4 separate regions of the Homo sapiens genome follow, and regions 1, 2 and 3 are each linked to region 4. The links are contacts of gene promoters, found by promoter capture Hi-C in blood cells and fetal thymus (Javierre and others, 2016). All regions are on one chromosome and are shown on one strand. Each heading gives the region's core, a stretch centred on a gene start or on the middle of the fragment in contact. The rest is flanking DNA. Distances are from core to core; before and after follow the strand shown.

Evidence for each region. Contacts are between HindIII fragments. The CHiCAGO score rates a contact against its expected background, and 5 or more counts as called.
Region 1: a fragment that was not itself captured here is called in contact with the fragment with the promoter of RPS16 in region 4 in 1 of 17 cell types (neutrophils); the score reaches 5.0 in neutrophils.
Region 2: a contact is called between the fragment with the promoter of IFNL3 here and the fragment with the promoter of RPS16 in region 4, in 1 of 17 cell types (neutrophils). The highest score is 7.8, in neutrophils.
Region 3: a fragment that was not itself captured here is called in contact with the fragment with the promoter of RPS16 in region 4 in 1 of 17 cell types (neutrophils); the score reaches 7.2 in neutrophils.

The regions. Positions count from the first base shown.
Region 1 is chr19:39,302,594-39,310,066 of GRCh38, forward strand. LRFN1 (leucine rich repeat and fibronectin type III domain containing 1) reads right to left here. Exons shown (of 5, transcript NM_020862.2): 5 at 3,973-5,949. The coding sequence ends at 5,040. Among named protein-coding and RNA genes, the nearest start is that of IFNL1, 9.9 kb to the left of the region's middle. RefSeq lists an enhancer at 5,234-5,735. The HindIII fragment of the contact is 8,108 bases long and covers 434-7,473 here.
Region 2 is chr19:39,240,640-39,247,766 of GRCh38, forward strand. It overlaps IFNL3 (interferon lambda 3), which reads right to left and starts at 4,367. Exons shown (of 5, transcript NM_172139.4): 1 at 4,149-4,367; 2 at 3,778-3,855; 3 at 3,369-3,518; 4 at 3,185-3,268; 5 at 2,914-3,091. The coding sequence starts at 4,328. The coding sequence ends at 2,993. It also overlaps the pseudogene IFNL4. The HindIII fragment of the contact is 30,036 bases long and covers 1-7,127 here.
Region 3 is chr19:39,214,000-39,221,172 of GRCh38, forward strand. No RefSeq gene overlaps it. Among named protein-coding and RNA genes, the nearest start is that of SYCN, 13 kb to the left of the region's middle. The HindIII fragment of the contact is 6,255 bases long and covers 1-4,900 here.
Region 4 is chr19:39,433,715-39,440,936 of GRCh38, forward strand. RPS16 (ribosomal protein S16) reads right to left here and starts at 2,235. Exons shown (of 5, transcript NM_001020.6): 1 at 2,134-2,235; 2 at 1,893-1,994; 3 at 1-47. The coding sequence starts at 2,181. RefSeq lists enhancers at 1,429-2,008, 3,672-4,440 and a silencer at 2,389-2,488. The HindIII fragment of the contact is 27,347 bases long and covers 1-7,222 here.

The sequences.
Region 1 (7,473 bases), core at 3,238-5,737, 130 kb before region 4:
TATATATATGTGTGTATATATATATATATTTGTGTATATATATATATATATATATTTTTTTTTTTTTTTTTTTTTTTTGAGACAGAGTCTAGTTCTGTCACCCAGGCTGGAGTGCAGTGGTGCGATCTTGGCTCACTGCAACCTCCACCTCCCAGGTTCAAGTGATTCTCGTGCCTCATCCTCCTGAGTAGCTGGGATTACAGGCACCCGCCACCATGCATGGCTAATTTTTGTACTTTTAGTAGAGACAGGATTTTACCATGTTGGCCAGGCTGGTCTCGAACTCCTGACCTCAGGTGATCCACCCGCCTCAGCCTCCCAAAGTGCTGGGATTACAGGCATGAGCCACTGTGTCCAGCCTCTATTGCTTTTATATGCTCAACAAGCTTTCTTATTTTTTTTTCTTTTTTGAGACTAGCATATTACAGCAACAAGCTTTCTTTGTTTTATTTTTTTTTAAGATCTTGCTCTGTCATCCAGGCTGGAGTGCAGTGGCTCAATCATAGCTCACTGCTGCCTCAAACTCCTGGGCTCAAGACCACCTCCTGAGTAACTGGGACTACACGTACACACCACCATGCTTGGCTAATTTTTTATTTTTATTTTTGTAGAGACAGAGTCTCGCCATGTTGCCCAGGCTGGTCTCAAGCTCCTAGCCTCAAGTGATCATCCCACCTTGGCCTCCCAAAGTTCTGGAATTACAGGTATGAGCCACCACACCCAGCCAACAAGATTTCTTATCCTACTTTTTCTGGAGAGTATTTACCTTCAACCACATAAAATTGCCAATACTATACAATGTGTGACCTACAAAAATGGCAAGTTCATGTGGTTCAACCTAATATTTAGCAATCCCTACTTCCCAGGACACACAACCGGGACATAGGACCCACCCACCCCCTACCTGGCCAATCAAAGCATTCCATTCATTCCCTTGGATGCGGCAATCAGTGCAGGGGTTGCTATGTGACCTCGGCCAGGCCGATAAGAGCTCTTCCCTGAGATTTTTCTCTTAGGACTAGAGATTCTGCCATTTTATCTCTGGGCTCTGGAAAGATTGAGTCTGTGTCTGTAAATAAATGACCATTTTCCCCCGCCACATGCAGTTGAAAGGGATGAGTCTGAGCTGAGCCAAGCAGAGAAGAGAGCTGTGTAGGGAGAGTGTCTTGGTGGGGTTGAGTCTGGGTTCCTTTCTCTAAAGCTCTGTTCCTTGTAGCTTTGCAATCACCCCACAACTTTTTCTTTTTTTTTTTATTTTTGAGACGGAGTCTCACTCTGTCACCCAGGCTGGAATGCAGTGATGTAATCTCAAGTGATTCTCCTGCCTCAGCCTTTCAAGTAGCTGAAATCACAGGCACCCACCATGCCCAGCTGATTTTTGTATTTTTAGTAGAGATAGGGTTTCACCATGTTGGCGAGCCTGGTCTCGAACTCCTGACCTCAGGCGATCCTCCCACCTTGGCCTCCCAAAGTGCTGGGATTACGTGTCAGTCACTGCACCCACCCCCAATTCTGTTTTGAAGGTAGGCATACCTCACCCCAAAGCTGGGGTCTCCATAGAAATCAGACCACATACCACCCCTGGTAAAGACCCTTCATTGGCTTCCCATGGCCCCAAAGAATAAAATGTTAACTCTTGACCACACCTCACAAGGTTCTGTAGAACCCACTTGCTTCTCCCACCTACTCTCCTCTCACTCTTCCCACTTCAGTCCAGACACACTGCCTCCAACACATCAAGCACACTACTTCCTAAGGGTCTTTGCACATGCTGTTCCCTTTGCCAGGAATGCTTTTCCCTGCTTTTCTCACAATGCATTTATTTAGCTCTGTCATCACCATCCTTCACCCTCCCACCTAAAGTAGGCCTCAAAGTCATTCTCTATGCCATCATCCTGTTTTCATTCTTGGCACAACATTTATTTGCCACTGGACATGCATTATTTACTCGTTTTTGTTTGCTTGTTTTTTGGGTCTCACTCTGCCACACAGGCTGGAGTGCAGTGGTGCAATCAGGGCTCATTGCAGCCTCAACCTCCTGGACTCATTTAATTGCTTATTTGTTTATTTCTCCTCCCTCTAGAATATAGGCACCACGGAGCAGGGCTTTCTTGTTTTGTTTCATCTATTTTGTTCACTGCGATAGCCCCTACATAGGACCAGTTACATAATACATGCTCAATAATGCTTTATCAAGTGAATTAGAGACAAGATTCCTGATGGTTCTGTGTGCAGGTTGGAGGCAGTCAGCTTTCCAATCATGGCTCTGCTGTTAACTGGCTGTGTGATCTTGGAGATGCTCCTTAACCTCTCTGAGCTTCAGTTTCCTCATCTTGAAAATTGTGTGCACACACTGCATATACCTGTGCAGGCTTTAAATGCAGTCATACTTATTATTGGAGTAACTCCATTTCCTAAGCATTATGTGCCATGCACTGGGTTGCATGCTCTTTATCCGTGCATCAGGGAGGGTTTGGGAGCACTGTGCCTGGCTTGTGAAAAGCCCTCAGTACCTAGGAGTCGTCATGACTGACACAAATGAGGGTGGTTGGGCTCCTGGGTGAGGAAGCCTCCTGGCCTGTGATTCTCTGGTGCCTCTGTCCTAGCAGCCTCCCACCCTGTCTGCCTAGATCCATCCCCCTCCCTCCTGCTCCGTTTCTATTTCTGTCTTTCTCTCCTCCTCCCCTGGCCTCAGGGGGCCCCTGGCTGGCAAGAAGCCTTCCTCCTTCTTCCCCAAGATCAGGAAGGTGTTATCACTGCAGGGCCCCTGCAAGGACTGGGATGTCTGTCCCTCTCCTCTCCCCAACCAGCTTTCCTTCCCCAGCCACAGCCCTCAGCCTCACCTGAGAAACTCCTCTCCCCACACCATCCTCCATGCCCTCCGCCAGGGTCCCTCAGATTCCAGGCAGAGCGACACAAGAGGTCTTGTCCCTGAGCTCACCAGGCTAGCTGTGGATATCCAAGCTCAGCTAAGCTCATGGGGGCCATACCCCAGCTTCCGGACACAGACCCCAGAGGCAGCATAGTGTAGGGGTACAATCAAACTTCCAGCTCCGCTATTTATTCATTGGGGGGATGGAGGGACTACGGCAAGTGACTTCATCTCTCTGTGGTTCAGGTTCTTGTCTGTAAAATGGGACCAAGGATAGATCTACCCTACCCCACTGAGTTGTGAGGTCTCAGAGGGTGGAATGAATATTCAATAACTGCTCAGCAGTACAGTGCTCTAGTTGAGTATTAAAGGAGTTCAGGGAATGTCACCCCAAAATATGGCACCCTGGTATGCTGATTATTTTAAATTAAAGGCACTTAGAGATCCATAGATGCTGGAAGAGGCTTTCCTCCTATGTCTTCTTATCTGCCTAAAGATCAAAAAGAACACAAGTGCCTTCTGTCCTCTCCCTGACATTTCATTATCTTTAACAGGAAAAAAAGACAGAGAAATGTCTACACCTGGACGGACTTTGTCACAAGAAATTATCTGTCTGTCAGTCTCAAATTCCAGAGACATTTACAAGCTAAATTCTATCTCCTGGACCCATTTATTTTCCCCAAAATCATTTATTACCCCTCAAAATTGCCTTCCTTTCCCCATCTCCCCTCCTGTGAAGAAAGGTATATAAGTATATAAACCTCACTGGGTTATTGGGTAATCACTTTCCTGTGATTTTCCTAGTGCATGTTAAATACCCTCCATATTCCTTTTCTCTTGTTAATCTATTGTCAGCCCATTCCAGTGAAATTTCAGAGAGTGAAGGGGAAGCTGTCTTTTCACCCCTATAGTAGAGACTCAGAAGTTGGCCTGCCTGCCTTTTTAAATCCCAGTTTTACCACCTTGGGCCAGTTATTTAACTTTTCTGGGCCAAAATTCCCTCATCTGGAAAACAGGATAATAATACCGATATGTCCTGGTGTTGTGAGAATTAAATGACTTAAGTGCTTGGCACATAGTAAGTAAGTATTCACTAAGCGTTAGCTATTATGATCATTTTATTTTTGTGATTATTCCCCACCTCTAAGTCTCTCAGAGGATAAAAGCCTGTCTGCCAGTCTCCTCCGGCCCCAGTTAGTCATCTTCCCATCTTCCTTCAGTCTCACTTAGAGTCCTTATGCTGCAATCTAGGTCACCCTCCCCCAACACACACACACACACACACACACACACACACACACACACACTACACGCGGACACACATACAGACACACACACAGGTCAGCAGGGCCTCAGACACAGAAAAAAGTTTAATTCTGCTGCGGCGGAGGGTCCCGGCTCCGGTAGGGAGGGGGATTTGGTTTTGGATTTTGTTCGTGTGGGGATTTATTTGGGAGAGTCTGGTCCTTCCAGTGGGACCTGCCCGGGAGAATGAGTAAAGAGAAGAAATCAGGAGAGACAGGGAGACTAGACAAAACCAGGGAGGGCCGAGGGACAAGAGACGACAGGACAGAGAGAAAGGAGAGGCAAATAGGGAAAGACAGGCACTACAGAGAGACGACAAGAGGGCGGGATAGAGACAAACGAGGGAAACAGAGAAAGGGGGACCCCAAGCCAGACCCGACCGGACCAGGAATGTGCGTGGGGTGGGGTGGGAGGCTTTGGAGGCCGCCGCGGGACAGAATAGGATCTAGTCCAGCCAGATACAAGAAATGGGCCCCTCGCCCCGGCCCCGGGTGACGGGCTGGGGGAGGGGGCTCGTGTCTCAGTGCTGCAGTGTCAGGGGGCCCTGCCCCTCCCCGCGCTTCGCTGTGTAAGGCACCGGCTCCAGCGAGGTCCGCGAGCGCGCGAGGGGAGGGGTAGGAGGGGGGTCGAGGAGTCCATAGGGGAAGGGAGGCCGGCAGCCGGTCCCCGAACCCCGCCCTGGGCACGGGGGCGTGGCCTCGAGCCGCAGCCCGAGGCTGCCCCGCCCCCTCCCGGGGACAAGGGCGCGTCTCCACTCTGGTCCAATGTCTTGGCGCTGCGCTTTCTCCCAGTCCCGCCCCAGCGTCCGTGCGGCTGGGCGTTTGGTCTGCGGCACCCAGGCGTCCCGGCGCCCGCCCGCCGCTCACACGGTACTCTCCAGCATCCACTCGGTGCTGGTGAAAGCCAGGCACGCCCTGGCGGAGCCCAGCCCCAGGTCTCCATCCTCCCCGGCCGCGCCCCCTCCAGCCCCGTCCAGGTGCGGCGTGGACCGGTGGCGCTTTGTCCGCCGGGCGCGGCGCGGGTAACTGTGGCTCTGGAATAGTGCCCCGTAGTCCCCGTCGAACGAATAGCGCTGCTGCGGCCTCGGCCGGGCCGCGGCTCCCCCAGGAACTAGAGCTAGAGTAGGGGGCGCCGAGGTTGGTGGCTCCAGGGCGCCGGATCGGCTCCTTCGAGGGCCCACCGCGGCCCGAGACTCCTCCCCGGAAGTTTCCTCGGATGGCAGCAGGCACAGCGAGGTGGCCGAGCCGCCCAGAGAACGTCCAAGGACCACCTCCGGCTCCGCGGATGCCGTCTCGGCCTCCATGGCCTTGGCCTCGACGGCGACGGCGGGGGCAGCCTGGGACTCCACCTCGCGCAGCGCCTCGTAGTGGTCCTGGGCCGGCAGGGCCGGGGCCTGTGCCGCGCCTGTGCCTGCGCCGTTGGTCTGCGAGCACACGTGGCTGACCCGCGGGAGCGACCTGGAGCCCTTGACGCGGCGGCTGTCCCCGTCGCCATACACCTTATAGCGGATCATGAGCAGAACGATGAAGACGAGGACCGAGGCGACGATGACGCCCCCGATGGCGATGATCATGGTGCCGCCCAAGAAATGGGCCCTCAGCGGGCGGCAGGGCGCCGGATCCCCAGCGGTGGTGAACTGTACACAGCCCACCACTCGCGTTGCCGGCAGCGCTGTGGCCCCGTCGTCGTAGACCGCCAGCACGCACAAGTCGTAGGCACGGCCCGCCGCCAGGTCATTCACCAGGAAGGTCTGACTGGTGGACGGGATCATCCTGTAGGAGGGGGCGGGTTCAGGGCGGGGTTAGTCCCCCCGAACCACGCCCCTTCGCTTTATGCCCCGCCCATGGTGAACAGTGGGGACTAAACCCTGCTATCGAAGTCTCAGCCGCTACTGAGACAACAGCAGCAATTCAAGCCCCGCCTCCATCAACATATTCCCACCCTTTCACACCCCTCATCTGTATGCCCCGCCCTCAGACCCACCTCCTGGCTGTGTCCCATCACCCACTGGGACAATATATCTATCATTCGTATTACCTCCTCTGCATATCCCGGCCCCTGCAGGGGAGAAGTGCTATGGCTTTTAAGCCCTGCCCTCAAGGGACATGCTCCCTAGCTATGTCTCACTCTTGCTAGGACAACTGCCATTCAAGGTCCTTCATCTAGGCATTTCTACCCCAAAACTGGGCCAACGCTACTGGCCACCTCCCCTTTTCTGCATGCCCCATCCCCCACTCAGGTGGACACTAAGGTCAGCTCACAGCGCCTGTCATATTCCTACTGGAACAATGGATGCTCTTCTAGTTCCTCTTTTATACATATTCCTGCCTTTCAGGGAAAACCATGATGCAGGTCGCTCCCCCTTATCTGCATGCAGCACCTTTGGGTAAAACATCTAGCTTTGGCCGGCTGCAGTGGCTCACGCCTGTAATCCCAACACTTTGGAAGGCTAAGAAGGGTGGATCACCTGAGGTTAGGAGTTCAAGACTGGCCTGGCCAACATGGTAACCCTGTCTCTATTAAAAATACAAAAATTAGCCAGGCGTGGTGGCAGGCACCTGTAATCCTAGCTACTCGGGAGGCTGAGGCAGGAAAATCGCTTGAACCCGGGAGGTGGAGGTTGCAGTGAGCCGAGACCACATCATTGCACTCTAGCTTGGGCTACAAGACCGCAAGACCGAGACTCTGTCTCAAAAAACAAACAAACCAAAAAAAAAAAAAAAAAAAAAAAAAAAAACCATCTAGCTTTGTCTATGTCCTGGAACAGTTTCCAAGTCCCTTAACTACATGTTCCCTGACATTGCTACAGGCCATTCCCCAACCAAATGAAATGTGGCTTCCAGGCACACCCCACAATGGCCCACTAAGGATGGTTCCCCTACTGTGTATAGGCCACATCCAGACTACAGGCCCTGCTCCTTGTCCAGATATTAAAGGCAACCACCTCATATGTTCATGTGCCACCAGAAGTCACCAAATCACGCTACCAGGTAAGTTTCTTCCGTAAAGGGGTCAAACGTAGCCAAGCACACACCATATTCCTTTCTTGCTGTAGGCCCCTCCCCTCGAATGAAGACTAGTGTAGAGAAGTGGTTAAGATGACAAAGGCTGGGGGCCAGATTGCCCGGGTTTGAGTCTCTCCTCTGCCACTTGCTTGCTCTGTGACCTCAGGCAAGTTTCTCTTTTGTTTCATTTTGTTTTGTTTGAGACAGACTCTCGCTGTGTCACCCAGGCTGGAGTACAATGACGCGATCTCGGCTCACTGCAATCTCTGCCTTCCGGGTTCAAGTGATTCT
Region 2 (7,127 bases), core at 3,117-5,616, 190 kb before region 4:
AACAGAGCAAGACCCTGTCTCTAAACTTAAAGACAGAGAGAGAGAGTCCAGGCGCGGTAGCTCATGCCTGTAATCCCAGCACTTTGGGAGGCCAAGGCCAGTGGATCACCTGAGATCAGGAGTTCGAGACCGACCTGGCTAACATGGTGAAACCCCATTTCTACTAAAACTACAAAAAATTAGCTGGGTGTGGTGGCAGACACCTGTAATCCCAGCTACTCGGGAGGCCGAGGCAGGAGATTCACTTGAACCCAGCAGGTGGAGGTTGCAGTGAGCCAAGATCGCGCCACTACACTCCAGCTTGGGCAACAAGAGCGAAACTCTGTCTCAAAAAAAAAAAAAAAAAAAAAGAGAGCAAGAGGAGGGAAGGAAGTTCTGACACATGCTACAATAAAAATGAACTTTGAAGACATTATGTCAGTGAAATAAGCCAGTCTCAAAAGAACAAATGCTGTATGATTCCCCCTACATGAGGTGCTGAGAGAAGTCAAATTCCTAGAAACAGACGTGTCTAAATATTTGCCGGGGTAGCGGGAGGGGTTAATAGGAAGTTGTTGTTTAATGGGTACAGAGATTCAATTTTGTAAGATGAAGAGAGTTCTGGAGATTGCTTGCCGAACAATGTAGCAAACACCACTAGGACCAGACCTGTAATCCCGGCACTTTGGGAGGCCAAGGGGGGCAGATCACTTGAGGTCAGGAGTTCGAGACCAACCTGGCCAACATGGCAAAACCCCATCTCTACTAAAAATACAGTAATTAGCCAGGCATCTGACTGGCTAATGGCACACACCTGTAGTCTCAGCTACTCAGGAGGCTGAGGTGGGAGGATCACTTGAGCCTAGGAGGTCGAGGCTGCAATGAGCTATGATCATGCCAGTGCCCTCCAGCCAGGGTGACAGAGCAAGGTCCTGTCTCAAAAAAAAAAAAATAGAATAAATAAATAATAAAATTGCACTACTGAACAATGTGCTTTAGAAAGGATAAGATGGTACATTTTGTGGGTTTCCCACAATTAAAAAAAATATTTAAATTACCTGAACAAAAAGAACAAAACAAAATGCATGCACATTTCTATTCCTACAGTTCTGACAGTCAAGATGTCAGCAGAGCGGGTTCCTTCTGGAAGCAGCAGGGGAGATCTCTCTCCTTTCTCAGCCTCTGGGGGTGTCCAGCATCCCTTGACCCCGGTTCCCTTCCTGACATCACTCCAATGTCCTGTTTCTGTGGTTACATCTTCCGCTAATGATGCTGACCCCGGCCTCCTTCTTAGAAGGACTTTTGTGATGACATTGGGTCCAGGTGGACAACCCAGGATAACGCCCCCATCCCAAACCCTTAACTTACTCACATCTGCAGAGTCCCTCGTGCCATGGAACATAACATATTCCCAGGTCCAGGAATCAGGAACATCTCTGGGGACCAGTCTTGCATCTAGCACGAATCCATTACAAATGCAGCAACACACCACAGCAGTGTTAGCAGAACTTGTGACTGTTACCAAAAGAAATCACAGGCATTTCCTATCACGTTATCTTCCAGCAGGCACCTTGAAATGTCATTTATGCTCATCTCTGCTTCTAAGTCACAGTGGTTATTAAAGCTGCCACAGGTGATTTTTTACTTAATGCATTCATGAAGAAGCACATGAATTGCTATGTCACAGTGTGAAAAAATATTTTGATCACTGTATTACAATCAGAGTTGGATTCCTTTGTCCTGCACGTGTTCTTTCCTTCTGAGAAGGGTCCGTAGGCTTTTCAAGGCTGCCGTGAGGTCCGGTGGGTGAAGATGATGAGGGAGCCCTGTCCCGGGGACTGTGGAGCACAGAACTGCCAGGAACCAGGGCCCCTGGATGACTGAGTGGGGCCATCCTGCCAGGGGGAGCGCTCACCTTGGGAGGAGGAGCTGGTGGAGAATGACACTCTGTGGTTTGTAATTCATGATCACTGTATTTGGGGGACTCTTTGTTCCAGCAGCTCAGCCAACTCTACTCAGCAGGGGTCCCTGATCCAAGTTGTCCTCCTCATCTGTAGGGGCTTATCCAGGGTTAGTGAGACCTCATGTTTGCTTATACAATTCAGGGGCTTCTTGGAAAGAGAATGGGCTGGACCCGGTGACTCAAGCCTGTAATCCCAGTTCGGGGAGGGGCTGGAGAGGGTGGAGGATGGTGCCGAGGAGAGAGAATCACTTGAGCCCAGGAGTTTGAGGCTACAGTGAGATGTGATCACGCAAGAGACAGGATCTTGCTGTTGCTCAGGCTGGTCGTGAACTCCTGACCTCAAACAGTCCTCCCATCTCAGCTTCCACCAGTAGCTGGGATTATGGGCTTGTGCCACCACACCCAGCCAATTCTCTAATTTTTTATAGAGACAGGATCTTGCTATGTTGCCCAGGCTGGTCTGGGCTCAAGTGATCCTCCCAACTCAGCCACCCAAAGTGCTGTGATTACAGGCTTGAGCAATCACATCCAGGCTCTAAATTAATTTTAAAGATGCTTCATTTCACCCAATACATCCAAAGTGCTATCATTTCAACATCTAATGAATATATAAATTATAATTAAGCTGTTTTACTTTTTTTTTTTTCTCCACAGTAAATCTTCAAATTCTGGGGTATGTTTTACACTCACTGAAAAAATGAGGTTGCACCACCTACATTCCAGGTGCTCGATAGTGACATGTGACCTGGGGACCCCAGTGGACAGCACAGACTCAATGAACCTGCTGTTCTAGATGCTACTTTTAGGGTAATTTGTTATGGCAGCAATGCAAAGGAAATACACACCAACGCACACACAGTCCCACGTCATGGGTGTCTTTTCCTCATTGTTTATTTCAACAAGGATTTCAAAAAGTAGAAAAATAAACATTTTCCTGGAGGTGAGTTGGATTTACATACACAAATACATAAATAGCGACTGGGTGACAATAAATTAAGCCAAGTGGCTAATTTATAAATAAAATCTCAGGTTGCATGACTGGCGGAAGGGTCAGACACACAGGTCCCCGCTGGCAACACAATTCAGGTCTCGCGTGAGGAGGCGGAAGAGGTTGAAGGTGACAGAGGCCTCGAGGCAGCCAGGGGACTCCTGTAGGGAGGAGGGGATGGGTCAGGGGCTGTCTGGGTTCTGGGCTCCCAGTGGCTCCCCAGACCTCAGTCCCTCTCTTCCCGGGTCACTCACCTTTTTTGGGGCCTCCTGGAGCCGGTGCAGCCAATGGTGGAGGCGGCCCCGGGTCCTGGGCCCTGCCGTGGGCTGAGGCTGGATCTGTGGGCAGAGGAGGGCGGTGTGTGAGCCGGGGCCTTGGCCAGGGGAAGGACGCTGCTCAGAGCTCACAGACCTGGGTGCCCGGGCCCTGACGACTCACACAGGCCCGGAGCTGGGAGAGGATATGGTGCAGGGTGTGAAGGGGCTGGTCCAAGACATCCCCCAGGGCTGGGTCAGTGTCAGCGGTGGCCTCCAGAACCTTCAGCGTCAGGGCCAGCTCAGCCTCCAAAGCCACGGGGCGCTCCCTCACCTGAGGAGAGGTGAGAAAGAGCAGGTGAGGGGGGAGGTGAGGGGAACAGGTTGGGGGAGGAGGATAGAGAGGAACAAGTGAAGGTGACAGGCACAGGGGAGAGGGCACAGCCAGTGTGGTCAGGTAGGAGCAGAGGGAAGGGGTAGCAGGTGTGGGGAGAGGAGAGAGGGACAATGGAGAAGGAGAAGGTGAAGGGGCCACTACAGAGCCAGGTGAGCAGGGCTGGGAGGGCAGGGGTGGGCCTGACTCCCCCTCTCACCTGCAGCTGCCTCAGGTCCCAGGTCCTGGGGAAGAGGCGGGAGCGGCACTTGCAGTCCTTCAGCAGAAGCGACTCTTCCTAGACAGCAAAGGCACAGGTTAGCCCCAGCAGGAGGGGTGGAGGTTAGACCACTCTGATGGGATTGGAGGATGGCTGACAACAGGATAGGGGAGGTTAACTGCTGGGAGGATGGTAGAGGACCCTCTTCTTCAGGAAAACATGAGTCAGTCCCTGCAGTAGGAGCATGAGATAGCCCACTGCAGGGAGGGTGGAGGCTAGCCCAGTGAAGGAAGCTGGGAGTGGGAAAGCATGGTGACCCTTGGAGTGCGGGTGGAGGCTAGTCCATGGCAGGAGGGCAGGGGGAGACTCACTAAGGCATCTTTGGCCCTCTTAAAGGCCTGCAGCTCCTGTGGAGACAGGGACTTGAACTGGGCTATGTGGCAGCCCCTTGCATCCGGGAGAGCCCCGCGGAGCCTGGCGACAGGAACTGCTCCAGTCACGGTCAGCACTGCGGCCATCAGCACCAGCACTGGCATGCAGTCCCCGGTCATGTCTGTGTCACAGAGAGAAAGGGAGCTGAGGGAATGCAGAGGCTGCCCACTGAGGGCAGGGGCTGCAGGAGCTGAGCACGGACAGAGATGTGGGACTCACCTAGTTTCATTCCTGATCTCTGGTCTTTGTCAGCAGAAGAAACACTCTGAGGCTGTCACCCAGGGTCTGTTTGGGTCTTGTCTGGAGTCTCTGTTCTTTTCAGTCCCCTCTTCTGGATCTCAGACTGTGTCCTGGCTTTGACTCTTTCTGTCAGTTTTGAGCTCTGTCTGGGATGTAATTCCTGCCTGAGCTCCATGGGGCAGCTTTTATCCCTGACAGAAGGGCAGTCCCAGCTGATGTAGGAAAAGTGAAAACACAGCCTCAGGTAAGACACCGGCCACCAGGGGAGCCCCAGGCTGGGAAAGCCCAGAGCAGGGCAGGGCTAGTGAGCCAGATGAGCAGCTGGAGGGAAAGAGAAACTGATGGAGACTCAGGGGTAACCTACAGGAAGGTATGTTCCCAAGAGGATTCCACCTGCTCTGGTTTTGTTGTTGTTTAAGACAGGGTCTCACTCTGTCACTGCAGTGCAATGGCATGATCACAGCTCACTGCAGCCTCAAACTCCTGGGCTCAAGCCATCCTCCTCACCCAGCCTATTAAAGTGCTGAGATTACAGGCCTGAGCCACCACTCCTGGCATATATATATATATATATATATATATATTTTGAGACAGGGTCTTGTTCGGTCACCCAGGCTGGAGTGCAGTGCAAAATCTTGGCTAACTGCAACCTCCGCCTCCTGGGTTCAAGCAATTCTCTTGCCTTAGCCTCCCAAGTAGCTGAGATTACAGATTTGTGCCACCATTCCCAGCTAATTTTTATATTTTTAGTAGAGATGGCGTTTCACCATGTTGGCAAGGCTGGTCTCAAATTCCTGATGTCAAGTCATCTCTCTGTCTAGGCCTCCCAAATTGCTGGGATTTCAGTGTGAGCCACCATGCCCAGAGGCCAATATTTCTTAATTGCCCAGGCAAGGAAGGACTCAGGAATATGAGGCTCTGCTCAAGAATTGAGGTGTGACGAAGGACTTGAAGGACACCACGTGGGTGCCGTCTTTCTTAGGGAAGTTCAGGCAGTGGTGAAGAGCATGGGTCTTGGAGATGAAGGGTCTGGGGTTCAAACCTGGTTCTGACCCTCACTAGCCGTGTGACCTTGGCAAGGAGGGGTGCATTCAGCAACGCAGATTGCTAATGCACAGATTTGGAGAAAAAATTAATAACACAATTGTTTGTGTATTTATGTGAGTGATTATTTAATAGAATCCACTCATTAAGACCATACTAGGACCTCAGCTGGAGAGTTTAAAACGTGATCTCAACGGACACTACTCCTCCACAAGGCAAGTATGCTAACCCATCCTATAGGTGAGGAAACAGAGGCTCAGAAAAGTAATTTGCCCTGAATTCCACTGTAATTAACTGGCAGGGTCAGAACTGAAACTCAGGCCACCTGAGTCCCTGGCTCGGCCTCTTTTTTTGCTGTAAGGTGCACCTCACAATCATCATACGGAAAACAACCAATGCGATCAAAACACTCTTTGATAACTGGCAATAAATTTAAACCGGGAGACAGAATAGCAAATGCACAGGAACTTCACAAATACAAACACACGTAAGGGAATCCAAAGAACCACAGTCGGTTAAGGACCCTTGGGCCTTTCACTACCAAATCCCTCATGGATTGGTGTCCCTTAGATGCCGGATCCAAGAGTCACGGATTCACAGAATCTCAAAGCTGGCTGTGGGGCTACAAATCCGGGGTTAGGACCTGGTGTTGGGGGTGTCCTGGTAACCACACAAGGAGGAACTGGTCCCTGTTGCCTGGGGTCAGCCACGGTTTCCAGAGCTCAAGTTTTTTCCTGCCACAGCAACCGTTGGAGGGTCGTACAATGCACCCCGAGGAAATATCGTGGCTTCCTGGAGAACTGTGGTCTCTTCCCTGTAGAAGGACCCGCTCCTCTTATATCTGAGACAGTGGATCCAAGTCAGGCCCAAGGCTGCGAAGAAGTTTTCGTGCCTCAGCACCCATTGACTGAGAGCCTCGCCCGGCCAGCCCAATGGACGACAGGAGCTGCTTTCGGCAGCCAATGGCGTGGAGGTTTCCGTGCTGCCAGAGGGGGCGGGGTCAGAGGCAAGGCCCAGAGTGTGCAGCCAGCCGGAGCTCCCACGTGAGCAGGCGCAGGAGGTTGAAGACCACGCTGGCTTTGCGGCACCGAGGCGAGTCCTGGAGCCAGGGAGGGAGGGCAGCGGGGCTAAGCCAGGCTCTTCCCCCCGCCCCCGGAATCCCCCTCCAGTCCCGCTGCTCGCAGCCTCAGTCCCGTCCTTGTCAGCCTCGCCTGGTCCTCCCTGCGGGCTAACCCTGTATTGCCTGTTGCACTCACCGCTCTCCGGGGTTTGTGACGCCTCTTCTGGGCCCCGGGGACCTTCCTGGAGGAGCCTGGCCGTGCCAGCTCAAGCTGGAGGTGGGACATGAGGCAAATGGAAAAGGCGAAGGACGAAGCCCCTCTCTGCATCTGCCCGTGGCCCTCCCAGCCGCAGACTCGAGCCCGGATTTCAGGACACCCAGAGGACCCGACTCCGGTCTGGATGGGTTTTTCCGCTAAGCAGGACAGATTGGCAAAGCGCTGGGGCTCGCCGTGGGCCTGAGGATGCAGAGAAGCTGGCGGGGGAGAGGGGCGGCGGGGCGCGGCCGTCACTCACGCAGGCCGCCACATCCCTCCCCGCGGCCGCCAGCAGCTCCAGGATCGGGCCGGCGCCGG
Region 3 (7,173 bases), core at 523-3,022, 220 kb before region 4:
ATCACTCACTGTGTTGCCAAGCTGCTTTCAATCTCCTGGGCTCAAGTGATCCTCCTGCCTCGGCCTGCTAAAGCACTGGGATTTCAGGGGTGAAGCGCTGCTCCCAGCCTATTATATCTTTCATGCTTGCTTTCTTTATTCTTTTTTCCTTTGAGTTTTTTGTTTGTTTGTTTGTTTGTTTGTTTTTGAAACGGGGTCTCGCTCTGTCATCCAAGCTGGAGTGCAGTGGTGCGATCTCAGCTCACTGCAACCTCCGCCTCCCAAGTTCAAGGGATTCTCCTGCCTCAGCCTCCCAAGTAGCTGGGACTACAGGCATGTGCCACCATGCCCAGCTAATTTTTTGTAGTTTTAGTAGAGATGGGGTTTCACCATGTTGCCCAGGCTGGTCTTGAACTCCTGACTTCAAGTGATCCACCCACCTTGGCCTCCCAAAGTGCTGGGATTACAGGCATGAGCCACCATGCCTGGCCCTTTTCTTTGAGTTTTGCGTGCTGTTCTTTTCCTCACATTTAAGATAGATGGTTAGCTGGCTTATTTTCAGCCTCGTTCCTTTTCCCACATTTGTATTTAAGGCTTTACACTTTTTTTGTGGGATTGTTGTGTGTCTTACATAAGCAAAAAGTATAGTGGGTTGAGGTTATTTCAGGCACATGGAAAGTGCTCAGTGTGTTTACTGACATGGATGATGGTTTTGATTATTATTTAATTTATTTATTTATTTTGAGACAGAGTCACACTCTGTTGCCCAGGCTGGAGTGCGGTGGCGCGATCTCACCTCACTGCAACCTCCACCTCCCGGGTTCAAGCAATTCTCCTGCCTCAGCCTCCTGAGTAGCTGAAATTATAGGTGTGCACTACCACACCTGGCTAATTTTTGTATTTTTTAAAATAGAGATGGGGTTTCCCTATATTGGCCAAGGTGGTCCCGAGCTCCTGATGTTAGGTGATCCACCTGCCTCAACTTCCCAAAGTGTGATTATTATTATTCTTATTAATCAGGAGCTTTAGAGTCAGAGAAAGATTCAAGCAAGAAGTTTGGATTAATTATGAATCAGTTTCCTATTGCTGCCGTAACAAATGATTGCAAACAGTGCTTTACAACAACACAGATTCATTATCTCACAGTCCTGGAGGTTGGAAGTCCAAAATGAGTCTCCTTTGGCTAAAATCAAGGTGTCATCGGGCTGCCTTCCTTCTGGAGGCTCCAGGGGAGAATCCTGTTTCTTGCATTTTCCAGATTCTAGAGGCCACTTGCATTCCTTAGCTTGTGGCCCCTTCCTTGTTGAAGTCAGCAACAGAGAATCTTTAAATCCCTCTATGACTCTGTCCTTTTCTGCTGCCTGCTCTTCCACTTTAAGGGATCCTTACAATTACTCTGGTCCTACCCACATAATCCAGGATAATTTCCTTTGTTGTTGTTGTTTTTTGTTTTAAAGACACGGAGTCTTACTCTGTTGCCCAGGCTGGAGGGCAGTGGTGTGATCACCACTCACTGCAGTCTTGATTACCCAGGCTCAAGCAATCCTCCTGCCTCAGCTGCCTGAGTAGCCGGGACTACAGGTATGCACCACCACACCTGGCTAATTTTTGCATATTTTTGTAGAAACAGAATCTTGCTATGTTGCCCAGGCTGGTCTCAAACTCCTGGGCTCAAGTGATCCTCCAGCCTCAGCCTCCCAAAGTGCTGGGACTACAGGCATGAACCACCGCACCCAGCCTAGAGTCCATGTTTTTAGCCACTCAGCTCCAGGATACACTGAGCCTGGTTGCATAGTCAATTTCTTTTCTTTTCTTTTTTTTTGAGATGGAGTGTTGCTCTGTCGCCCAGGCTGGAGTGCAGTGGCATGATCTCAGCTCACTGCAACCTCAGCCTTCCAGGTTCAAGAAATTCTCCTGCCTCAGCCAGCCTCCCAAGTAGCTGGGATTACAGGCACGTGCCACCATGCCCAATTTCCTTATTTTAAAATCAATGGGACATGCGTGGTGGCTTATGCCTGTAATCCCAGCACTTTGGGAAGCCGAGGCGGGCAGATCACTTGAGGTCAGGAGTTTGAGACCAGCCTGGCCAATATGGTGAAACCCCATCTCTACTAAGAATACAAAAAATTAGCTGGACGTGGTGGCATGCACCTGTAGTCCCAGCTACTCAGGAGGCTGAGGCATGAGAATCGCTTGAGCCCGGGAGACAGAGGCTGTAGTGAGCCAAGGTCACACCGCTGCACTCCAACCTGGGTGACAGAGTGAGACTGTCTCAAAAAAATAAAATAAAATAATGATTAGTGACTTTAATTCCATCTGCAACCTTAACTCTTCCTTGCTGTGTAACATAATATATTCGCTAGTTCTGAGGACACCTCGGGGGGCTGTTATTCTGCCCAAAAATTAGTATTTTGTTTTACAAATGAGGAGTATTCTTGTCTTTCATATGAAGGGAGACAGCTACCAAGGCTGTCTGGGGCTCCAGTGTCAGGGCCCAGGCTCCTTCTGTCTTGTTGCTCCAGCATCAAATGTGGCTTTTTCTTGTGGCCCAATATGGCTGCTTGAGCTCCATCCTTCCCATCTACATCCCAGTCAACATGTGGAGGAAGGGAGGGAGGGAAGAAGAAGGAAATGCTCTTCCAGGAGCATGGTACATGACACTCCTGTCTACATCTTGCTGCCAGAACTTAGCTAGAGATGGGCACTCAATGCCTCAAAAAGATGGATCTAGGCCAGGCGCAGTGGCTCACACCTGTAATCCCAGCACTTTGGGAGGCCGAGGCAGGCGGATTACGAGGTTAGGAGTTCAAGACCAGCCTGGCCAAAGTGGTGAAACCCCATCTCTACTAAAAATACAAAAAATTAGCTGGGCATGGTGGCAGGTGCCTGTAATCCCAGCTACTCAGGAGGCTGAGGCAGAAGAATTGTTTGAACCCAGGAGGCAGAGGTTGCAGTGAGCTGAGATCGCACCACTGCACTCTAGCCCGGGCGACAGTGCGAGACTCCATCTCAAAAAAAAAAAAAAAAAAAAAAAAGATCTGGCCTTGGGTTAGCTGTATGCCTGGTCACAAATCAAATTTCCTATTACTGAAGGAAGAACAGATATTGAGGCCATGTCACAGATTGAAGGAATAAGAAGCACATTGAAGGGATGACAGAGTCAGAGAGGACATAGATGTCCAGGAAAAAGTGGAATCCAGCCTTTCTACAATCTGGGTACAGTAGAAAGAAGGGGGGTGTGGTCACTGATAATGGCTTTCAAGATATCCCGGAACCTGTGGGTGACCTTATTTGGCAAAAGAAACTTCACAGACGTGATTGAGTTCAGGATCGTTCAATCAGAGGTTGTCCTGGAAGATCTGGGTGGACCCTAAATGGAATCACTAGGCTCCCTAGAAGAGGGAGGCAGAGGAAGATTTGGCTACAGAGGAGGAGGCAAGGTGAGGATGGAAGCAGAGGTTGGAGAGATGTTATTTGAAGATGGAGGAGGCCACGAGCCAAGGAACGCAGGCCAACACTGGAAGCTGAAAAGGTCGGCTGAGCAGGGTGGTTCACACCTGTAATCCCAGCACTTTGGGAAGTCAAGGCAGGCAGATCACTTGAGGCCAGGAGTTCAAGACCAGCCTGTCCAACATGGCGAAACCCCATTTCTACTAAAAAATACAAAAATTAGCCAGGCATGGTGGTGCATGCCTGTAATCCCCTCTACTCTGGAGGCTGAGGCAGGAGAATTGCTCGAACCCAGGAGGCAGAGGTTGCAGTGAGCTGAGATCGTGCCACTGCACTCCAGCCTGGGCAACAGAACAAGACTCCAGCACAAAAAGGAAAAAAAAAAAAAAAAAAAGAAGCTGAAAAGGTCAAGAGCATGGATTCTCCACTGGGGCTTCCGTAAGGAACCAATCCTGCTGACATCTTAATTTTAATCTTGTAAGACCCAAGTCAGACGTCTGACCTCCACAGCTGAAAGAACACATCTGTGGTGTTGTAAGCCACTAAGTGCATTGCCATTGGTTACAGCAGGCACAGGAAATGAAAACAGTAACTCTGCCCTAAAATCTCCCTTATTCCCTAAGAGATATAACTGGGGGAGGAGATCCCCTGCGAAGGTGGGTGTTGGCTGAAGTCCTTCAGGGAACCAAAATGATTCTGGGGGGCTGGGAGAGGGGACTTCCAGTAGGCAAGGGGCAGATTCGAGTGACTGGTGTCACTTTGCTCAAAAGTAGTAGTAGGCTGGGTGTGGTGGTTCACACCTATAATCCCAGTACTTTCGGAGGCCAAGCCAGGAGGATTGCTTGAGCCCGGGAGTTTGAGACCAGCCTGGGCAACATAGTAAGACCCTGTTGCTACTAAAAATTTAAAAATTAGCCCGGTGTGGTTGCTGTAGAGAGGGAACAGCCCCTGCTACTGGGGAGGCTGAGGTGGGAGCATCACTTGAGCCCAGGCGATCCAGGCTGCAGTGAGCTATAATTGCACCATTGCATTCCAGCCTGGGCAACACAGCAAGACCCTGTCTCAAAAAAAAAAAAAAAAAGAAGTAGTAGTAATAAAAAGAATGATAAAAATGGCAGTAATAAAAAGAATACCAATAACAACTACCGGCATGTGCATCTTTATTGCATGCCGGACTCTCCGCTAATAGCCTTACACACGTGTTCTTTTATCTTCATAGCTACCCTATGGGACAATGAGTCCATCAAAATGGGCTGCATTTTCCTGCAGTAACAAATGACCTCAAGTCTCAGCGGCTTACGCCTGCGAAGGCTGATTGCCTGCTTACACCGTGTGCTCATCCCAGGACACTTTGGTGCTGTGCTTGTCATTGTCCTCACCCAGGCTGAGAGAGCAGCTAATCCCTGGCTCATTGCCAGTCTCTGATCCCAGGGAAAAGCAGGTGGGATAGGCACCGGCACTTAGTGCTTAAAGCTTCATTCCCAGATGACACAGGTCACACCACTCTCTCCCTTTTTTTTTTTTTCCTTTCTGAGACAGAGTCTTGCTCCGTCACCCAGGCTGGAGTGCAGTGGCGTGATCTTGGCTCACTGCAACCTCCACTTCCCGGGTCCAACCGATTCTCCTGCCTCAGCCTCCCAAGTAGCTGGGATTACAGGCACACGCCACCATGCCCTGCTTATTTTTGTATTTTTTAATAGAGACGGGGTTTCACCATGTTGGCAAGGCTGGTCTCGAACTCCTGACCTTGTGATCCGCCTGCCTCAGCCTCCCAAAGTGCTAGGATTACAGGCGTGAGCCACCACGCCCAGCCACATTTTAAAATTTTACAAGTGACTTCATAAAGTAGATGAAAACGTTGCCCTTGTGGAGATTACACTCCAGTAGAGGGAGACAGGCAATAAACAATTTAAAATAAATGTAGTTGCCAGGCACGGTGGCTCACACCTGTAATCCTCGAAACTTGGGAGGCTGAGGCGGGCAGATTGCATGAGGCCAGGAGTTCGAGACCAGCCTGGTCAACATGGTGAAACCTCATCTCTACTAAAAGTACCAGAAATATTAGCTGGGTGTGGTGGTGTGTGCCTGTAGTCCCAGCTACTCAGGACACTGAGGCATGAGAGTTGCTTGAACCCAGGAGGTGGAGGCTGCAGTGAGCTGAGAATGTGCCACTGCACTGTAGCCTGTGCAACAGAATGAGACCCTGTCTCATAATAATAATAATAATAATAATAATAATAATTGCAGTGATTGAATGCCATGCCCAGTAGGTGCTATGGAGACAAGTACAGCCGGGAGGGAGGATGGAGTGAGGCGGGTGCCCTTTTGAATAGCGTGATCAGGGGACCCTCATGCAGAAGCATTTGGTCGAAGACTCGAGGAGGAGAAGGAGGGAGACATGGTGATACTGGGGGAAGAGCATTCGAGGTAGAGGGAACAGCCAGTGCAAAGGAATATTTGAGGAATAGCAAGGAGTGGACAGAGGTAGACGGAGAAAGGGAGGAGATGAGGTCAGAGTGGTCACAGGGGCAGGTCATGGGGGCCTCACGTAAGGTCTTTGTCACTAAATATATAAAGTGAATGATTCGGGTCACTCCCTTTACCCTGAGTGACATGGAGCCATGGGCAGATTCTGAGCAGGGGAGGGACATGACCTGCCTCAGGTGTTCACTTCTGGACATCAATGTCATGGGCTTAAAACAGTCACATGGCCAGATCCAACATCAAAGGGCACAGAAGTACACTCTGCCTTTGGCAAGTCCGTGGCGAGGGTATAGATGGAGGGAGGGGTGAAGAATTTGCATCAGTAACTGGATCTTCCCCAGGAGTCATCACTGTAGCAGTGGGGTTGGGTTTTAAACCATGAGAATAGACAACTGCATCACAGATAGATGCGGGAGAAGGCTGGGGCTGAGCCCTGGGGTAGTCCAGTGTTTTTGATTTTTTGTTTTTGTTTCTGTTTTTTTTTTAATTTTATTTTATATATATATTTTTGAGACAGGGTCTTGCTCTGTCGCCAGGCTGGAGTGCAGTGGTGTGACCTTGGCTCACTGCAACTTCCACCTTCTGGGTTCAAGTGATTCTCCTGCCTCAGCCTCCCAAGTAGCTGGGATTACAGGCGGGCACCAGGACGCCCAGCTAATTTTTGTATTTTTAGTAGAGATGGGGGTTTCACCATGTTAGCCAGGATGGTCTCGATCTCTTGACCTCGTGATCCGCCCGCCTTGGCCTCCCAAAGTGCTGGGATTACAGGCGTGAGCCACTGCACCCAGCCTGTTTCTGTTTTTGAGATGGAGTCCCAGTCTGTCACCCAAGCTGGAGTTCAGTAGCACGATCTTGGCTCACTGCAACCTCCACCTCCCAGGTTCAAGCAATTCTCCCTGTCTCAGCCTCCTGAGAGGCTGGGATTACAGGCACCTGCCACCATGTCCGACTCATTTTTGAATTTTTTAGTAGAGACTGGGTTTTGCCAGGTTGGCCAGGCTGGTCTTGAACTCCTGGCCTCAGGTGATCCACCCGCCTCGGCCTCCTAAAGTGCTGGGATTACAGGCTTGAGTCACCAGGCCTGGCCTTTGTTTTTGTTTGTTAACATAGGATCTTGTTCTGTCATCCAGGCTGGAGTGCAGTGGTGCCATATCATAGTTCACTGAAGCCTCCGCCTCCTGGGCTCAAGAGATCCTCCCACTTCAGCCTCCCAAAGTGCTGGGATTACAGGCGTGAGCCACCATGGCTGGCAGATGCCAG
Region 4 (7,222 bases), core at 985-3,484:
ACACCAGCAAATCGCTCCTTGCCGAGAAGCAGAACTGGCTCCAGCAGCTAAAGGAATGGGGAATGAACAGGGATTTAAGTTACATGCTGGGCAGCTTAGCCATCTCACTGGGCTTCTTGTTTCTGTGGCTTCTGCCACCACTGGCCTTCAAGTACTAGTGGATGGGGGTCAGGGTGTCACTCCAAGGCCCTCTACAGACCCAGAGAAGAGGAAAGTCAAAAAAGCCAGATATGAGACTGCTGAAGTGGTGTTAAGAAATATAGGCAAGGTAAAGGGAACAAGATCTGGGCTCCCTCCTACTTGTGTCCCTCACTGGACCTCAGACACCCTACCTCTAAGACTGGTTCTTAGAAGGCTGAACAGTAAGGAGCATTCCAATAGCTTCTGAAACTCCCAAGGCTGTTTCAAGTAGTCGAAAGCCATCCCTGGACTGTTCAGGTGCCTTTTCTATTTCCCACCTGAGCTCTCTGCCCTTTCTTTGAGCCTCACAGGTTTCCAGAATTACAGTACAACCTGTCCCTGGTCCCTAGACCCTTCCCAGCTCCAGGTCTTTTACCAGTGCCTCTGTCTGGATACTTCCTTTACCTGCTTTCAGCTCACAGGTCTCCTTCCCCAGTTCTGACCACTTTGGATCAGCTTCTGGTATTGGGCCCAGTCCTTCTCCCCAACTAGGCTGGCAGGTCCATGAAGGCAAGACCTTAAGTCATCTGGATCACTGCTATGTCCCCAAAACTCAACAGAGGGTACACATACAAATCCTTCAAATACAGTGACAGCCAATAACAGTAACATTCAACATCTGCTACACAAAGGAAATCTCAGAATTTTTATTAAATTCTAGGCCAGGCATGGTGATCACACCTGTAATCCCAGTCCAGGCAGAAGGATCACATGAGACCAAGGACCAGCCTGGGCAATAAAGTGAGACCCCACGTCTACAGAAAAATATTTCTCAAATGAGCCAGGCGTGGTGATGTGCCTGTAGTCTTGGCAACCGAAAGGCTGAGGTGGGAGGATCTCCAACTCAGGAGTTTAAGGCTGCAGTTCATTAGGATTGTGCTATTGCACTCCAGGGTAGGTGACAGCAAGATACTGTTTTTAAAAAAGAACCTTATAACTCAAAAAAAATTTTTTTAACTGACCCTGCAATGTAGATATTCTTTCTTTTAAAAGTAGTAGAGTTCAGAAGGGGCAGAAATCAGACTCTGGTTTCTTTCCATTCTGAGCCAAAGAAATTGAGAGTCCCAAAAAGGGAACAGAGGAACCCCTTTTACAAGCAAGCATTTAAACAGACCCAAATTCGGCCGCACACGGTGGCTGACGCCTGCAATCCCAGCACTTCGGGAGGCCGAGGCTGGTGGATCACCTGAGGTAATGAGTTCGAGACCACTCTGGCCAATATGGCGAAACCCCGTCTCTACTAAAAATACAAAAATTAGCCGGGCGTGGTGGTGCATGCCTGTAATCTCAGCTACTCAAGAGGCTGAGGCAGGAGAATCGCTTTAACCCGGGAGGCGAAGGTTGCAGTGATCCGAGATCGCGCCACTACACTCCAGCCTGGGCGACACAGCGAGACTCCCTCTCAAAACAAATAAATAAAATAAAAAATAGTCGGTGTCCCTTCACCCTTTGGGTCCCCCCGCCCCAGTGAGGTGAGCTTCCTAACATCCCAGTTCTCAAAGCAAACCCTTAATCTTCAACAACCCCATCTCAGCTTTTACATCTTCTGAACCCCAAGCCCAGCTCTATTGCCAAATACCCCACTGTTCTACACCCAACACAACTTCTAAACATCCCGTTGCTGATGCCAGCCCCCCCAGCTTTCAAGAGCTACAACATCTCTGTCTCCAAGAGTCCTCCATCCACTCAACGCCGGTGCCGGATCCCAGCACCTTGTACTGTAGCGTGCGCGGCTCAATCATCTCCAGGGGCCGCCCGTTCACCTTGATGAGACCATTGCCGCGTTTGCAGTGCGCCACAGCTGTCGCTGTCTTCTGTAAGATACAAGAGAAACAGGGGCCCCGTGAGCTCCGGCTCCAGCTCCCATGTTACCCCCTAGATTCCTGCCCACCGACCTCTCCCAGACCCTGGCCTTCTCCTTCCCCTCCCCTTCCCATCCGGCGTCTGGCTCACCTTGCGTCCGAAGACCTGCACAGACTGCAGCGGGCCCTTGGACGGCATGGCTCCGAGCGTGGACTAGACAACCTCACCGCGCGGCGCCGCAACCGGAAAAGGAAAGCTAGGGGCCACCCTGGCCGCTTTTCAGGGTCTGCGCAGGCGCCTTGAGCACTGCGTCGCGACGGGAGAGAGCTTTACGGCTTCTGTTGCGGCTAACGGGCGGGGCGTCTGGTCAGCGGCGGGAAGGCCCTTAGGCGCTCAGAGCGGGCGGGCCCTGTGAGGCGGAAGTGGCGGGCTCTGTGGGCGGAAGGGGCGGGGCCTGGGAGTGTCGTGTGCGGACTGAAGGGAAGGCTGCGGGAGTGTGCTTCGCGTCCTCTGTAGTCGACTACCGCAGCTCTTCTTTGCATTCTGGCTCTTTAATAATCTCCCTTCGCCCTTTCTTTAAATCAGTTCCCACCCTCCCAACACCTGTAATCTTTCTCCCCTCTGGACTCCCTCCTCCCCGAATCCCCCGCATCAGAATCTTCCTTTGGAATCTACTGCAAGAAATCTGGCTGGATTCTCAGATTAAGGACTTCCAGAATCCTATCCTCCCTAGAATCCCCCTCCTTGGGGATCCTCTCCCAGAATCCTTTTCCCCTCAGAGCCCCTTCCCCTCAGAATCTCCCTTTCACCAGAATGTCCTTCCTTTCAGTTTCCTCTTCCCAGAATGTTTCCCATCCTTCTCTCAGATGGCCAACCCCAAATGTCCCTCTTAAGAGTGCTCAACTTAGACCCCCCTTTTCCCTGAATCTCCCTCCATTCGGTCCTCGTCCCCTCAGTCACCCTTCCCAGAATCTTTCTCTTGTCAGGACCCAGTACCCCTGGAATCTCCCTCCTCCAGAATCTCCCTTTCCCGGCAAATCCCCCTTTCCCGGCAAATCCCCCTTTCCCAGAACACCCCGCCCCGCAAATCCACAAAAACTTTTCTCTCAGAGACCCGTCCCTCAAAATCTACCTTTCTCCTGAGTTTATTTCCCTTCCGAGACTCCTCTTCCCAGCAACTGCCTTCCCTGGAGTTTTCCCTCCGTTAGAATCCCCCTCTCCTAAGAGACCCTCCCCCAAGAATTAACCTCTTCCCCGTCCCCACCCTAGAATCTCTCTCTTTTTTTTGAGACGGAGTTTCGCTCGTTGCCCTGGCTAGAGTGCAGTGGTGCGATCTCGTCTCACTGCAACCTCCGCCTCCCGGGTTCAAGAGATTCTCCTGCCTTAGGCTCCCGAGTAGCTGGAATTACAGGCGTCTACCACCACGCCCTGGTCGTTTTTTGTATTTTTAGTAGAAATGGGGTTTCACCACGTTGGCCAGGCTGGTCTCGAACTCCTGACCTCAGGTGATGTGATCCGCCTCAGCCTCCCAGAGTCCTGGGATTACAGGCGTGAGCCACCACGCCCGGCCGAATCTCTCTGTTTTTTGTTTTTTTTTTTTCTTTTTTTTGAGACAGAGTCCTGCTCTGTCGCCCAGGCTGGAGTGCAGTGGCATGATCTCTGCTCACTGCAACCTCTGCCTCCCCGGTTAAAGCGATTCTCCTGCCTCAGCCTCTTGAGTAGCTGAGATTACAGGCATGCACCACCACGCCCGGCTAATTTTTGTATTTGTAGTAGAGACGGGGTTTCACCATATTGGCCAGACTGGTCTCGAACTCCTGACATCAAATGATCCACTCATCTCAGCCTCCCAAAGTGCTGGGATTACAGGCGTGAGCCACCGCGCCCAGCCCCTAGAATCTCTTTCTCCAGAATCTCCCAGTCATCTTTTTCCTCTCCCCCAAATCACCCTCCACTTAAGCCTCCTCCCCACAGAATTCTCCATCCCCAGCCCCCCAACCCCACCTGAGGAACCCCAGGATTGGGTTGTCCTCTGGTTCCCCGGCAGATGTCCCTGCGTCTCACCCCATCAAGAGTCTCCCCAGCGAAGAGGTTCCTCTCTCAGAGCTAGAGGGAGCCCACAGTTGCCTCAGTTTCTCTGGCAGTACAGGGTCTGGGATCCAGGGTTCAAAAGGGCGTCGTGGTGCACCTTGCCAAAGAGGGTGGAGACAGGGAGACACTGGAGGGCAGGTCTGGGGCCAGAGGGAAAAGCCAGCCCGGAGTCCAGCTCTAAAAGGGTGAGGGGGGAGGGGGCTGTTGGGAGGGAGGAAGGAAGTACCCAGAGGCTGACCGGGAGGGACACAGACACAGCCCAAAGAAATGTAGGCACAAGTGGAGAAGAAGAGAAAGATGAAAGGCCAAGGGAGAAGAGGAGGAGAAAAGGGAGAGACCAGGACAGTCAAGAGATGGACCCCCAAAACAAGCCCAGTGACAGATTTAGAGGCAGAGAGGCCAACCCTCAGACAAAAAAGAGATAAAGGCAGGCATGATGTTTCCAAAATACTTGAGACAGAGGCCAGGTGCAGTGGCTCACACCTATAATCCCAGCACTTTGGGAGGCCAAGGCAGCAGGATCACTCGAGCCCAGGGTTCAAGACCAGCCTGGCCAACATGGTGAAACCCCGCCTTTACTAAAAATACAAAAATCAGCTGGGCATGGTGGCAGGTGCCTGTATCCCAGCCACAAGGGAGGCTGAGGCAGGAGAACCGCTTGAACCCGGGAGGCGGAGGTTGCAGTGAGCTGAGATGTCGCCACTGCACCCTAGGCTGGGCGCCAGAGCAAGACTCTGTCTCAAAAATAAATAAATAAATAAACTCTGTCTCAAAAATAAATAAATAAAATAAAATAAATAGAGCAGAGACCTCAAATATTCACTTGCAGACACAGATAAAGGCTAGCACAGGTGTTTTCCAATGAAGACACAGGCAGATGAGAGGATGCACACATTCTACCTGTACTTTTTCTTTTTTTTTTTTTAAATTGAGATAGAGTCTGTGTCACCCAGGCTGGAATGCAGTGATGCAATCTGAGCTCACTGCAACCTCCACCTCCCCGGTTCAAGTGATTGTCCTGCTTCAGACTCTGGAGTAGCTGAGATTACAGATTCTCCTGCTTCAGACTCCTGAGTAGCCCAGATCACGGGCCTCCACCACTATGCTTGACTAATAATTTTTCTTTTTTTTTTTTGAGATGGAGTATCGCTCTGTCGCCCAGACTGGAGGGCAGTGGCTTGATCTCAGCTCACTGCAACGTCAGCTTCCTGGGTTCAAGCAATTCTCCTGCATCAGCCTTCCAAGTAGCTGGGATTAAAGGCATGCACCACCATGCCCAGCTAATTTTTGTATTTATTAGTAGAGACAGGGTTTCACTATGCTGGGCAGACTAGTCTTGAACTCCTGACCTCAAGTGATCCACTTGCCTCGGCCTCCCAAAGTGCTGGGATTACAAGTGTGAGCCACTGTGCCTGGCCACTAATTTTTGTATTTTTTAGTAGAGACAGGGTTCCATCGTGTTGGCCAGGCTGGTCTTGAACTCCTTACCTCAAGTGATCCGCCCACCTCGGCCTCCCAAGGTTCTGGGATTACAGGTGTGAGCCACAGCGGTTGGCCTAGCCTGCACTGTCTTAAGGGCCTGTTGGGCAGGGGAGTTCAGGTTCTCTCGTCTCTCCAGATTGATCTTCACACATTTGCTAAGTCTCGTATCGTCCCTGAGCTTGGGAGTCAGGGAGCGCTCTGACCTAAGCCCTCCTGACTTTGGGGTCACCATCTTTCCCCAGCCTCTATGGGCACACTCCCTGAATTATCTGTGGCTTGAGTGGAGCAAGCAGGGGATGGGATGAGGGGTGGCGGGGGAGTTCCCCTCATCCACTTCAGCCTTCCAGTCTGCTCCCCCTTCCTGTACCTCTCTCTTCCAGAACCCCAGGCCAAGCACCAGAGAAGGCCTGGGAGTGAGCAAGGTGCCCATGTTGCTTCTGTGGATCATCCTCCTGCTTGTACAGCCCTGGGAGGGCCTAGGAACGCCCGCCCCTCTGCTGGAGGGAGCCTTTTTACTTCCTTGCAGCCCTCTGAAGATACCAGCGAGTGGGGAGCAGAGCCAGCAGACGGGGTGGGCCAATTGATGGGGCGTGGTAGGGGGTGTGTTTGAGGAAGGGTCAGCCTCTTTCCCTCCAAGATCTGATTCTCCTCCTTACCCCTGAACTGTAGGAAAACAAAAATGATGACACCCTCTACACCCCAGATGATCTCTCAGTGAGTATTGCATTCGCTTCTTTCTGCAGTTGCAGGTTTTGAGAGAATTCAGTGGTCTCCATGTGTGAGGGCTGCTGTGTGACCATATGAATATGTTGCGGGGAGGAAGTAGTGGGACTATCTCCTGACCCAGCCCCTAGCCTTGACAGATATATTTTGCTCACTGCTGTCTCCAACACCTAGAATAGGGAGGTATATAATAACAAATGATGATGATGACTACAGCTGCATGTAAATAGTGTTTACTCTGTGCCAGGTATTGGTTTAAATGCTTTAAGTATGTTAGCTTATTTACTCTGTACACCAATCCTATAAGATAGATAGGACCACCATGTATGGATGTGAATGTTGTACACTGCACAAGGATCCCACATCTACAAAGACAGTACTATATTCACAGGCTGGATATTGTAGATTTGCATATTTGCCAACTTGCGGCAGATGGCAGTAAAGTATCTTGTTCTAATAAAATCAAGACTTAGAAGGTAGAAGGAACTTAAGGAAGGTCTTTTTATTTTCTTTTTTTTGAGACAGGGTCTTGCTCTGTCCCCTACGCTGGAGTGCAGTGGCACAATCACAGCTCACTGCAGTCTTGACCTTTTAGGCTCAAGCAATCCTCCCACCTCAGCCTCCAGAGTAGCTGGGACCACATACACGTGACACCACAAATAGCTAATGGCTAATTTTTTTTTTTTTTTTTTGAGACACAGTGTTGCTCTGTTGCCAGCTGGAGTGCAGTGGCGTGATCTCTGCTCACTGCAACCTCTGCGTCCTGGGTTGAAGCAATTCTTCTGCCTCAGCCTCCCGAGTAGCTGGGACTACAGGCATGTGCCACCATGCCCAGCTAATTTTTGTATTTTTAGTAGAGACAGGGTTTCACCATGTTGGCCAGGATGTTCTCGATCTCTTGACCTCGTGATCCACCTGCCTCAACCTCCCAAAGTGCTGGGAT